3 separate regions of the Homo sapiens genome follow, and regions 2 and 3 are each linked to region 1. Evidence: promoter capture Hi-C in 16 types of primary human blood cells and fetal thymus (Javierre and others, 2016). All regions are on one chromosome and are shown on one strand. Each heading gives the region's core, a stretch centred on a gene start or on the middle of the fragment in contact. The rest is flanking DNA. Distances are from core to core; before and after follow the strand shown.

What was found. The method cuts DNA at HindIII sites, captures the fragments that hold promoters and counts their contacts. A CHiCAGO score of 5 or more calls a contact.
Region 2: a fragment that was not itself captured here is called in contact with the fragment with the promoter of DRAM1 in region 1 in 1 of 17 cell types (neutrophils); the score reaches 6.2 in neutrophils.
Region 3: a contact is called between a fragment that was not itself captured here and the fragment with the promoter of DRAM1 in region 1, in 1 of 17 cell types (neutrophils). The highest score is 5.7, in neutrophils.

What each region holds. Positions count from the first base shown.
Region 1 is chr12:101,876,104-101,880,303 of GRCh38, reverse strand. It overlaps DRAM1 (DNA damage regulated autophagy modulator 1), which reads right to left and starts at 2,724. Exons shown (of 7, transcript NM_018370.3): 1 at 2,384-2,724. The coding sequence starts at 2,514. RefSeq lists enhancers at 1,838-1,887, 2,028-2,117, 1,756-2,537, 2,698-2,747, 2,538-3,320 and silencers at 2,338-2,677, 2,928-3,087. The HindIII fragment of the contact is 18,310 bases long and covers 1-4,200 here.
Region 2 is chr12:101,746,476-101,750,647 of GRCh38, reverse strand. It overlaps GNPTAB (N-acetylglucosamine-1-phosphate transferase subunits alpha and beta), which reads left to right. Exons shown (of 21, transcript NM_024312.5): 20 at 1,457-1,547; 21 at 3,407-4,172. The coding sequence ends at 3,484. Among named protein-coding and RNA genes, the nearest start is that of SYCP3, 9.1 kb to the right of the region's middle. The HindIII fragment of the contact is 9,825 bases long and covers 1-4,172 here.
Region 3 is chr12:102,069,780-102,073,912 of GRCh38, reverse strand. It overlaps NUP37 (nucleoporin 37), which reads left to right. Exons shown (of 10, transcript NM_024057.4): 10 at 1-810. Among named protein-coding and RNA genes, the nearest start is that of WASHC3, 9.9 kb to the right of the region's middle. The HindIII fragment of the contact is 2,992 bases long and covers 730-3,721 here.

The DNA of each region.
Region 1 (4,200 bases), core at 1,475-3,974:
AAAAAAAAAAAAAAAAAAAAAAAAAGGAAGCATTGCAGGACACAGCAAGATGCCATCTCTACAAATACAAAAAAAAATTAAAAATTAGCTGGGCATGGTTGTGCATGCCTATCTACAGTCCCCAGCTATTCAGGAGGCTGAGGTGGGAGGATCAATGGAGCCCAGGAGGTCGAGGCTGCAGTGAGCTGTGATCCCACCACCACACCACAGACTGGGCAACAGAGCGAGACTTTGTCTGAAAAAACAAACAAACAAACAAACAAAAGAAGCAGCACTGCAGGTAGAGCAGCTCTTTACCTTTTTTTTTTTTTTCTGAGATGGAGTCTCGCTCTGTCACCAGGCTGGAGTGCAGTAGCTCTGTCTCGGCTCACTGCAACCTCTGCCTCCCGGGTTCAAGCAATTCTGCCTCAGCCTCCCGAGTAGCTGGGACTACAGGCGTGCACCACCACGCCCAGCTAATTTCTGTATTTTTAGTAGAGATGAGGTTTTACCATGTTGGCCAGGATGGTCTCGATCTCTTGACCTCATGATCCGCCAGCCTCGGCCTCCCAAAGTGCTGGGATTACAGGCGTGAGCCACTGTGCCCAGCTGAGCAGGTCTTTACTTTTACACAAGTCTAGAAGGATCTATCCTGCTTCAGAAGCAAGATGATGGCACTTGGGCCTGAGATGTGCCATGAGAAACCAAGCCTAGGTTTCTTCCAAGCATAATACCAGATGGGAGGGCCAGGCGTGGTGGCTCACGCCTGTAATCCCAACACTCTGGGAGGCCAAAGCAAGGGGAATGCTTGAGCCCAGGAGTTTAAGACCAGCCTGGGCAATATAGTGAGACTTTGTCTCTACTGAAAATAAAAAATAATAACAATAAATGGAAAAAACCGAAAGGCCAGATGAGAACATCTTGATATACATAACATCTCCTTTCATAGGCAAAAACCACCATCATTACTGCAAATTTGCACTATTCTACCTATTGCTGTATTCCCTGCATCTTGTAAATGCTGGTTCCCTGGGAACACTGGCTCACACCTGTAATCCTAGCATTTTGGGAGGCCAAGGCAAGAGGATCACTTGAGGTCAGGAATTTGAGACCAGCCTGACCAACATAGTGAAACCCTGTCTCTACTAAAAATACAAAAAAATTAAGCCAGGTGTGGTGGTGCACGCCTGTAATCTCAGCTACTTGGGAGGCTGAGGCAGGAGAATCGCTTGAACCCGGGAGGCAGAGGTTGCGGTGAGCCGAGATTGTGTCACTGCACTCCAGCCTGGGCGACAGAACAAGACTCTGTCTCAAAAAAATAAAAAAAATTTTAAAAAATGCTAGTCCCCTCTTGCTCGATCTTTGTTTCCCCTTTCTCCACACTCCTCACCCCCACCCCCAAAAAAAGGAAAAAAACAAACAAACAAACAAAAAAACACAGAACATTGCTCACCAGACAGAATGGCTGCAGGGAAGAAGACGCCCTACATTTTCTATCATAGCAGTAACAAACCTTGGGTGTCACCAACCTTATCATCCGTTCACCAACCAATGCCTGTCCAGAGGGGTCACACTACTTAGATAAGGATGGATGGTTCTAACGTTTAAAGAATCCTGCCACTATGAGAAAGGCACTGAGCTGGAACCCACATAGGAGGATCAGACCACTGTCCCTGGCACTGAAGTGCCCCTCAGGAAGGTAGAGGCCAAAGCACAGGAAAAGTGAATGGGTAAAATAACACAAAAGATGTCACAAGTTGTTGACAAGTTGAGGACTTTGGGGTCACAGTGCCCAGAGGTGTCTGGTGCAGCTCCAGAGAATTTAAGCCAGACTCCCAGAGACCTGGGGGCAGCACAGTGTTGCTTTCTGCATGGCCGGGTGTGAATTCTGCTCCTACCATTAACTAGTGTGACATCAGTGTCACGTTGATGATATTTCATCAACTTTACACCACCGCTCGCTTGCGGGAATAATAAGCCCAAACATCCACTTCAAGGGATGTTGGGATGCAGAAGTGAAAATAGTGGCTGTTTAGCATATACCTGGATCTACCTCTTGTATAATATATGTCATCTATCAGAACCCATCTTGTTTCAATATCGCCTAAGAACGTCCTGCTGAGATTCTGTCCCATACCCAGAATGAAAGCTCTACCATCTATCCTGAACCTCTCCTTGCTGCCACCCTGTTCCATGCTCCGGGTACAGGCAGAAGTGCTCAGCGCCGCACCCGCTGCCTCCCTAAACATCCCAGGCTATCGGGAGCACCTCTCCTCCTGCTCCCACCTCTGCCTGACCACACGACGCCCCAAGCTGGGTCCGGACGCCTTCCCTCCCCGTCGGCAGCGCTCCCTGTGGTCCCTGTGCCTGCTCCTGGGGCCCTGACGCCCACCCTGCCACTCACCTGATATACGGGAGGAAGGGGTTGACGTGCCCGGAGAGCACGGCGACCACGTAGGAGATAATGAAGGCGGCTGACGACCAGGTCACCAAGAGGAAGGGGACGAAAGCCATTCCCCTCAGGAAGCACAGCATCGCGCCGCCGCCGCCGCCGACGGAGTGCTGCGCCCAGCGGGGCCGGGCGCCGGGTTGCTCCGGGCTGCCTGGAGGCGGCGGCCGGGCGCGTACACTCACGGACGGTGGGAGGGGAGGCTCCGCGACGGCCGGGGCAGGCCCAGCCCCGGAGGGAGGGGAAGCGCGAGGAGCGGAGCGAGGCTGCGGGCGGCGAGGCTGCCGGGCCAGAGTGGGTGGGGCGCGGGCTGCCCGGGCTTGTTGCGAAACGAGTGAAGTCACAAAGCGGCCCGGCAGGGTCGGAGGCGCCCGGCGAGCTCCAAGCGGACGCGACTACGGAGCCGCCGGAGGGGACGCGGGGTCGGGTTCCTTTCGCTTTTGGTTTGGACACTCGGCGGAGGCCGGGTTGGGCGCGGACGGGCGGCGTGGGGTCACTGGCGGGGACGCCCGCTCTGGCCTTCCCACTCTGGCCCTACCGCGCTGGCTCTTGCGCAACTCTGGAGAAAAGGATTTATTTCTCCCAACCCCTCCCTCCCGGGGGATTTCCGGAGTGCCGGGCCTCGCACCCCGAGGGCGCCCCCTCCGAGGTCCCGCCGCCGGCGCTTCGCAGCAGTGAGAGTGGCCACCGCGTGGTGACACCCATGCCATCCGGTCGCGCTGCTGCTGCGGGGGTCGGGCAGAAGTGTTCAATGAGGTTCGCCAGGTCACGGGGCGCAGATGTGGCTCCCACCTCAATGGTGAACACCCGAAAACCCAGACAGGGTGGGAACGGGTGGGGTGGAGAGTACGCGGGTGGGGTGCGGGGCAGGCGGGTGGGACTGCGCGCCCACGGAGCCGGGAGGCCCATTGTGCTGCTTTCCAGGAGAGCGCAACTGGAGAATATTTCCTGGAAATAAGATTTCCCAGGCCGGGCGCCGTGAATAGCCATCACTTTGGGAGGCATCCAAAAGCCATCACCCCTGGAATGCCACCACTTTGGGAGGCCGAGTTGGGAGGATCGCTTGAACCCAAGAACTAGAGATCAGCCTGGGTAACATAGCGAAACCCCTCTTCTACAAAAAAAAAAAAAAAAAATGAAAAAGAAAAAAAGCCGGTTCCAGTTACTCGGGAGACTGAGTTGGGATGATCACTTGAGCCTTGGGGGTCGAGGCTGCAGTGAGCCTTTATCACACCACTTCACTCGGCCTGGGTGACAGAGCAAGACCTTGTCTCAAAAAACAAACAAACAAAAAAAAAACAAAAAAAACTCCCCTCCAGGTTCTGGAGTAGCCCAGACTCGGAGCCTTGGCCTAAGATGATTAATAGTGACTTGATACATTTCAAGCCCTGTGAAAGGGATTTGTGTTCTGGAGGCACTTATAATATAAGCACATGATTTTGATAGTTTAGGGAGTCTGAGCCCAACATATGTGGCCAAAATTGTTGGGTCATTGGTGACCAAAGATAGGTTCCTTTCAGCCACAAACACATTTCATGGGCGCCATGCTAGGCTACAAAGATGAAATAGTAATAGTACCCTCAGGACGAGGACACTCATAGATCAAAATAACAAAATTAGGCCAGGCGTGGTGGCTCATGCCTGTAATCCTAGCACTTTGGGAGGCCAAGGTGGGTGGATCACCTGAGGTCAGGAGTTCGAGACCAGCCTGGCCAACATGGTGAAACCCCATCTCTACTAAAAATACAAAAAATTAGTCAGGCATCATGGCT
Region 2 (4,172 bases), core at 1,673-4,172, 130 kb after region 1:
TTTAGGTGGTTCTAAGTGTTAACTCCCCAAATTCAATTTGTGACTAAATTTACCCTCAAGGGTCCATTTGAATAAGAAAGAAGTGGGCTTAAAAGTAATTTGAGAGGACCTTGATTTCTGTGCTGTACAAATGGTGTGAATCAGGTGTGGGTGCTCTTGCAGTCATTCCCCTGCCCTGGAGGTTGCTTGCTCCTCATCCTGCTTAGTTCTGCATTGTCTCTCACTGCACTGACACTAGACATTAGTTGACAGAGCTGGTTATGATCCTATTAACAGAAGTGGGAAATACAGGGGGAAGAGCTGTGTGTGGGCGAGTGCCGTTTTGGATGTGTGACTTGAGGTAGAGACGCCCAAACAGTGGAAAATGAGAATCTGTAACTCAGCACAGAGGCCAGAGTTTGGTAGTTACTAGCATATCTTCCAAACCTATGGTAAGCATTTTTATTTAATCTTCGTAACCAATTGTTCATTATTTCCAAATTACAGATGAGGAAATGGCTGTACTGCCTCTTTTTATCCTCAGTATTCTCTTGGCTCCAGGTCCAGTTGATTCTACCTCAGGAATGTCTCTTCTGTTGCTTATTTCTTTTCATTGTCACTGCTTCCTTTCATGCCTGGACTAAAACTAAACTGCCTGCCTTCCTTGTTTGTCCATCCTTCAAATGGCCAACATGTTTACCCTGATTATGTCACACATACCCCCACCTGTCTGTTTCATCCACTTTCCCACTAGAGTGTTCTGTCCAGACCCCACGGTGTGGTTTTGCAAAGCAGCTGCAGTTCATACCCTCTCGCCTTCACCTGGCTTAGTTCCCCCCATGCTGCCGCATGGATTCACTCCACTCAGTCCTGTAGGGCCCAGCTGGCCACCGTGCCACTCTACTGCTCCTTCTCTTTCTCATCCATATGCTTCCTGTCCCCTTCAAGGCTTACAGGAAATGCCACCATCTCTGTGGCACTGTCCTCATTTCTCTAAGTTTTTCACATGACTTTGCTTTTGATAATGCATATTTCTGTGTCTTATGTGATGGCAAGTCATCAGTCAGCATGTCAGCAACGCCTCAGTTTTCTAAACACTTAAAAGCAGGGACTTCATCTTGTTCATCTCTCCATATACGCAGGAAGTATTTATCAAGAAACTGAGTGAATAAATAAGTATGAGTGAATAAAAATGAATGAAAGAGTGGTTTTGTTTAAGTGCCAGAAGTAATTTTCTTTTGAAGTCCTCTCTCCTGCCTGGATAACTTCACTAATTCAAGTATAATATTTACTATGACATAATAAAAAATCTGAACTCGTGTTGGAAATGTATATTGTGTGAGCATTTTAGAATTGCAAGACAATGTTTTTGTGTTTCCCAACATTGTTTTTATAGAACTAGTATATAAATAATGCTTAACTAATGGTAGTGAAACCATATACAGAAGTACATAGTTGCTTTCTTCTCTCTGCACAGGAGGGCTTATCGAGACAAATTGAAGTTTTGGACCCATTGTGTACTAGCAACATTGATTATGTTTACTATATTCTCATTTTTTGCTGAGCAGGTAAGTTTTATATATTTTATGTGGGTATTAAATGGTATTTCTTGGTATACTAGCATCTGAATGTTTTAGAAAATGATACACATTTACAATCAAAATTTTAACTTCTCTTATTGTCTTATAGCTCATATGTGAATATGTTAAATATGTTTCACAATATTCAGGCAGCAAATATAACAGTCTTTTATTCATTTCTCTTCTAAATCCATTACCAGTATTCTTTTTATCTGGAACTCAACAGATTAACTTGTAGATATCAGGCTAAAACCAAGTAGCTCTAAGTATTTATAACCAAAAAACCATCTAGAATCCTTATCTAATGTTAATTTTCTATGGGTCTCCAATTTTCTTCCTCTCTTTCACGCTTCCTTGAGTGAGCACAGTGTCTTCAGACATCCCACGGTTCCGTTGTGTTGTCCCACTCACACCAGTAGCTCCCATTTATCTTTCTTTCAATCGCTAGGAGTTCTCCCTCCTCTCTCCTCCTTCCTCCTCTCCTTGTCAGCCCCTCTACACCTGGGCTTTCCTCTGCATGCATGTACACACGCAGCCTCCTTGAGGTGAGTGTCCAGAAGTCGGAGGGAGATTTGTGAGGTAAAGAGAAAGGGATAAGAGAGTCCTCATTAGGCTATTCACATATCAAATACTCTGAAGAAAAAGGATTGAAGGAGGGGAATGGGCATCTTTACCAACCTGACTTGGGTGTGGCAAGTGACTTGGCCTCTGCCTCCAATCAAGGTGACTATTGAGTGGAGCTTTTCTAGCTGTCACTCAAATGAAACGTACACCAAGTTGACTTATACCAAGAAGGACAAGCACCTAAGTACTGAGAGCTTCAGGATAAATGAATGGGCTTCTTGCTGTAAATGGAAGGAAATTCAGGAAACAGAGACTGGGCAGGTGAACAGGACAGCAACTTAACCTTCATCTGCTTTCCAGGGATTGTACATCTTGTTCTTGATGTCTGTTACCATTGTTCCTGGCAGGTAAAAGTCTTATGAAAAATCTCAGAAAGGCTGTACCTGCTTTTAGAACAGGGTCCAGTGAGAAACCTTTGAGTCTGCTGTGCTGACCTAGGATGGGGAAGGAAAGGAGCCCTGACTCAAAGGAGCAGCCATTAATGGAAAGGAAGAGGAGTGTCAGTCTTTCCTCTATCTATACCAGTAGAGAATAGGGAACTAGAGAGGCAGTCTTTCCTCTATCTATACCAGTCTATCTATACCAGTAGAGAATAGGGAACTAGAGAGGCAGGAAGAGGGAAGGGAAGGGCAGGTTAAATCCCAACACTCTGCTCTCTACTGGAGTCAAACTCCTTCCTCCTGCCATACCTGCCACCTTCACAAACAAAGCAGCCAATGCTGCCTCTTCCTCCCCTCCCAAATTCCAGCTCATCATTCAAACCGTGGTGTCTTATGTTTGGGCAAAGCCCTGCCTCCTCCTACAGATGAAGGAATAAGCCATCATATCAACCCAGAGACAGTGTCTTATGGCTAAATAGAGCCAGTTTCCTTCAATAGAAAGACTTGACAAATGGACATCTTGAAAATAAATATGCTTTGGTAATAGCTGTGTAAAAATCTGTAGTTGTAGGTCTTAGAAAAATGAAGCATGGGCCGAAATAATTTTAATCCTCTTGGGTCTCTTTGTGGGCACATATCTAGGCATACTGTCCCTACAAAGCTAAACAAAACTAATATTTGTTTTTGTTTTGGAAGAGGAATGATGGAGATTTGTTTGTTGTCTTTTTAATGTATAAGATTGTGGAAATGATTAAGGTCATATGGCTCTTAGAAAGTTTGATGCACTTATATTCTTTCATCAACGTGAGAATTAAAATGTATTTTCTGTCTTTCATCATTTAGTTAATTGCACTTAAGCGGAAGATATTTCCCAGAAGGAGGATACACAAAGAAGCTAGTCCCAATCGAATCAGAGTATAGAAGATCTTCATTTGAAAACCATCTACCTCAGCATTTACTGAGCATTTTAAAACTCAGCTTCACAGAGATGTCTTTGTGATGTGATGCTTAGCAGTTTGGCCCGAAGAAGGAAAATATCCAGTACCATGCTGTTTTGTGGCATGAATATAGCCCACTGACCAGGAATTATTTAACCAACCCACTGAAAACTTGTGTGTTGAGCAGCTCTGAACTGATTTTACTTTTAAAGAATTTGCTCATGGACCTGTCATCCTTTTTATAAAAAGGCTCACTGACAAGAGACAGCTGTTAATTTCCCACAGCAATCATTGCAGACTAACTTTATTAGGAGAAGCCTATGCCAGCTGGGAGTGATTGCTAAGAGGCTCCAGTCTTTGCATTCCAAAGCCTTTTGCTAAAGTTTTGCACTTTTTTTTTTTCATTTCCCATTTTTAAGTAGTTACTAAGTTAACTAGTTATTCTTGCTTCTGAGTATAACGAATTGGGATGTCTAAACCTATTTTTATAGATGTTATTTAAATAATGCAGCAATATCACCTCTTATTGACAATACCTAAATTATGAGTTTTATTAATATTTAAGACTGTAAATGGTCTTAAACCACTAACTACTGAAGAGCTCAATGATTGACATCTGAAATGCTTTGTAATTATTGACTTCAGCCCCTAAGAATGCTATGATTTCACGT
Region 3 (4,133 bases), core at 976-3,475, 190 kb before region 1:
TGGATCACTTGAGGTGAGGAGTTCAAGACCAACCTGGCCAACATGGTGAAACCCTATCTCTACTAAAAAAATAAAAATAAAAAAAATTAGCCAAGCATGGTTTGGAAGACTGAGGCAGGAGAATCACTTGAACCTGGAAGGCAGAGGTTACAGTGAGCCAAGATCGTGCCACTTCACTGCAGCCTGGGCGACAGAGCGAGACTATCTCAAAAGAAAAAAAATCCAAGGAGAAAAAAATATCTTAGGGTATTCTGGAAGTGGTTGTTGAGTATATATATGTGTATGTGTACTCAATTTAATGTAAAAAATTGTTTTCAGTTTCTTAAATATGTGATTGATTATATTGCTCAACCCTGTTTATTATACGCAGATTCCTTTGGACGAGGTGTTCTAACAGTCTTAGAACATCTGATATATGGGATCAAAAGTTACCTTGAAAAATGACTTCTAGTGTATACCTTTAACAGCCTCCTTTTTGTGAATTTTCACTGTTCTTACCAAGAAACTTAAGTGTTTTTGAGATGGGACCTGTTGGCAATGGAACTGTGTTCACCCTCTCAAAGATCATTAAAATCAACGTTATCTAAGACAGCTGTATCACATTTTTGGGATACATCATGGTACAGTCAGAAGCATATAAAATTATGGTTCTGCTTGTCAGTCACATACAGAATCCAATACATTTTGACAAACTGCCCATTCCTGCAAGTTAATGCCCTTTTTGAAGCTTCATTTCCTCTTGTAAAGTACAGATAGGAATCATTATTTTGTGGAGTTGCTGTAAAGATTAAATAAAGGTGAATGAAAATACCTAGTATGTGTCTGTCACGTGGTTCAGAGATGTATAGAAATTATTTATTTCAGAGATGAGTAGGTCTTATTTTTGAGGTTTTAGAGATTTATGTTTAATGCCAGTAAATATTTTTTACTCCAGTTTTCTATTCTTAAGGTGTCTTAAAATAATTGTAGAATCAAGAACATTATATTTTTAAGAGATAGGAGAATGTTCCAGGTAATTAAAAGAAAGAATTCAGTGAAATTTTATAACCATGTAGATGTTTGGGTTCAACTTTTACATGCTTTAAAGTACAGATGAAAAATTTTATAGCAATTTCCTAGTCAATTTTTTAATACAGTTAAATATTATAACCAAATGATATAAATTGTTTTGTTTACCCCTTCATAAGAAGATTTTGAACTAACAAAGGAAAAAGCAAAGAGCAAGGAATTTTGACATGGTTCTCTTTAAGAATCTCTGTGATGGGGCAAGGATTCCTAAAAGCATCAGGATAGCCAAAGGGCTATCAATAGTGACTCTTACAAGAATTTGTCATTTCAGGATATGTCCAAGAAATATAAAAATCATCTCTAAGGCTAGTGTGTTCAAAAATTGTTGTCATATACTTAGAAAAATTGATGCATGAAGTGGGTGGGTTTTATTTAGGGATGGAAATTAAGGAGATGATTATGTTGGGCTTGGGTATATAAGAAATGGATTCTCTGGAATAAGGGCTTAACCAAAATATAAAAGTTGTCTGATGAAATTACCCAGTAGGGCTGGGCGCAGTGGCTCATGCCTGTAATCCCAACACTTCGGGAGGCCGAGGTGGGCGGATCACTTGAGGTCAGGAGTTCAAAACCAGCCTGGCCAACATGTTGAAAACCCACCTCTACTAAAAATACAAAAACAAAATTAGCAGGACGTGATGGCACGTGCCTATGATCCCAGCTACTTGGGAGGCTGAGCCATGAGAATCGCTTGAACCCTGGAGGCAGAGGTGGTGGTGAGCCAAGATTACACCACTGCACTTTAGCCTGGGTGACAGAGCAAGACTCCATCTCAAAAAAAAAAAAAAAATACCCAATAGAACTTCTATCTTTTAGTAGGGGAAGCTGTTTTGGGAAAAGATAACTCATGATGATTGTATACTGTTATGCCAAAAAGAGGCAGGAAGTGTTATCCTCAGAAGAAAATAGTGATTCCATTTGTGGATTAATATAGTGACTGTAAGATAAGACATTCTCAAGAAATGAGAGGGTTGCCTTTACCTGTTAGTTTCAGGAGTGAAATGTACTTTATCCTATGTAAGCATTGAGAACTCTAACCTCTTTTTCTTTTTTTAGATCTTAAAAGTAGGCTACAGGACCATGTTCCAACTTATACTTTGTTGTTAAACTTTATTGTGTTTAATTATTTTAAAATCGTATAATGTTGTTTTTTTCTTAGTAAACTTTGTTCTTCGAAATATGTTTATATTACACTAAGACAGGAGGAAGTATTTATGAGGAATTAGTTATTGGTCATCACTTCTAATTCCTGATGATAATATGAGATATTTCACATTGTGTGTATGTCCCAGTTTTAGTTTTTCCATGTTTGTTTATAAATATGTCTAAGATGGTTTTTCTTCTGTTGAAATTTAAGTTTTCCTCAGGATTGCTTCACTTAAAACATCAAAGAGAAAAAAGTTGTACTTATGTTCTAAAACTTGTATTATTTAGGACTATTGAAGCAAACAAAAGTCAGGATATCACAAATCTGCAAGATGTCAGAGCTAAATCCTACATTTTCAGAATGATGATGGGATCATAAGTCCCATTTCATTTTTATGATTTGGCTTCTACGTTATGAATATTTCAATATCTCTCCCATGCCAAAACACAAAATCACACACCCATGCACTCCAATTTGTTTCTTACTTTGGTAATTTGTGACTACATATTGACACTGACCTAGAAATGTTTCTGTTGCTGTTTTAAATCTCATGTCAGTGGAGAAGAAATTGAAATCTGGTTTGCACATTTGTGTCTGGTTTTCTGTAATTGTCTAAAATCTGACATTGTCCCAGAAACGCTGATTGGGAAGTTATGAGGCAGTATTGTGCCCAAGACTGATTTTAATAGTTTTTAGGAGAGAAAAAGTTCTCACTCTACACTATTTTCCATGTTTTTCTATACCTCAAAAAGTTAAACTCAGTTTAACCCAACTTTATACCATACAAGTAATAATAGCCTTAGCTCTGAGCCTAAATAAAATTTGCCAAATAAAAATGATAATTATGATCCATTTCCACATACTCCTCATGAGAGCTTGGTCAAGTCCTCAGAAGCAGCATTGTGTTCCAATATATCTTTATCAAACAGTGTGCTCAGCAACAAGGACAGGAGAGAACACTCAGTTTCTTTAATTTTAACACCTTGTTGATTCAAAAACATTTAACAGGCATTTGAAAAGAATTTCAAAACAATTAACATTTGTTTCTAATACATTTAAAAAATAATGCCTTTTAAAATGTGGGTAGAACTTTTTTTATTAACATGGCTTTAATTTATAGCAACCATTTGTTACCTAATCACAGTAACACAACAAAATAATTAGTGTATCAGCTTTGAAGATCTCATTTCACAAAAGCTAAAAAACACGTTATGATATATCCATTACTCAAACTCATAAGCCCTTTTGCATGCATTGGGCATAGATTTCATGGAAAATCAAAAGCATTTAGTCTACTTTCTGACATTTTCATCTGTTCTTTGAACTACCTTAATAAAAAAAAATTGTTGCCCTTATGTAGGGTCAAGTGACGTTTGTCTGTCTGAAAATTTCCTTGGATCAGCTTATTTCTGTGTAACTTATGTCTTTGTTATACAGCTATTTGCCTTTTTAACTGATTTTTAACAGGATACTTTACCTTGGGACTTGTAACACTTAATGTAAGCTTATAAAATCCACATGAACAATAGTAAGTAATGGGGAGACTACCAGGTTTCTCAGCCTTTACAAACAATTTGATTTAAAGATTTATGAAATACTGATTTCTACCAACTGCATTTATAATGCTGTAATGAGTTAAGTTTCTATTTCTATGTAGTAAAAGACAATAAATGCTGCTGGTATCTGTGCTTCTAATGGTGGTTGAACATAAAACTTTGATCTTACAAACACAGCTGTTGTCCTATAATTGAGCCAAATTCAGACAGGATTAAACCCTGGCCAAAACTAAGGTTAATCTTTGCAACCATCTCAAGTAAGAGCTTGCTAATACTGTTTTAGGAAATCTTTGTTTTTGAGACAGCGTAAAAGGAAGGAAGTTCCAGACAACTGACCTCTAAAGTAAGCCAGACGCAACTAA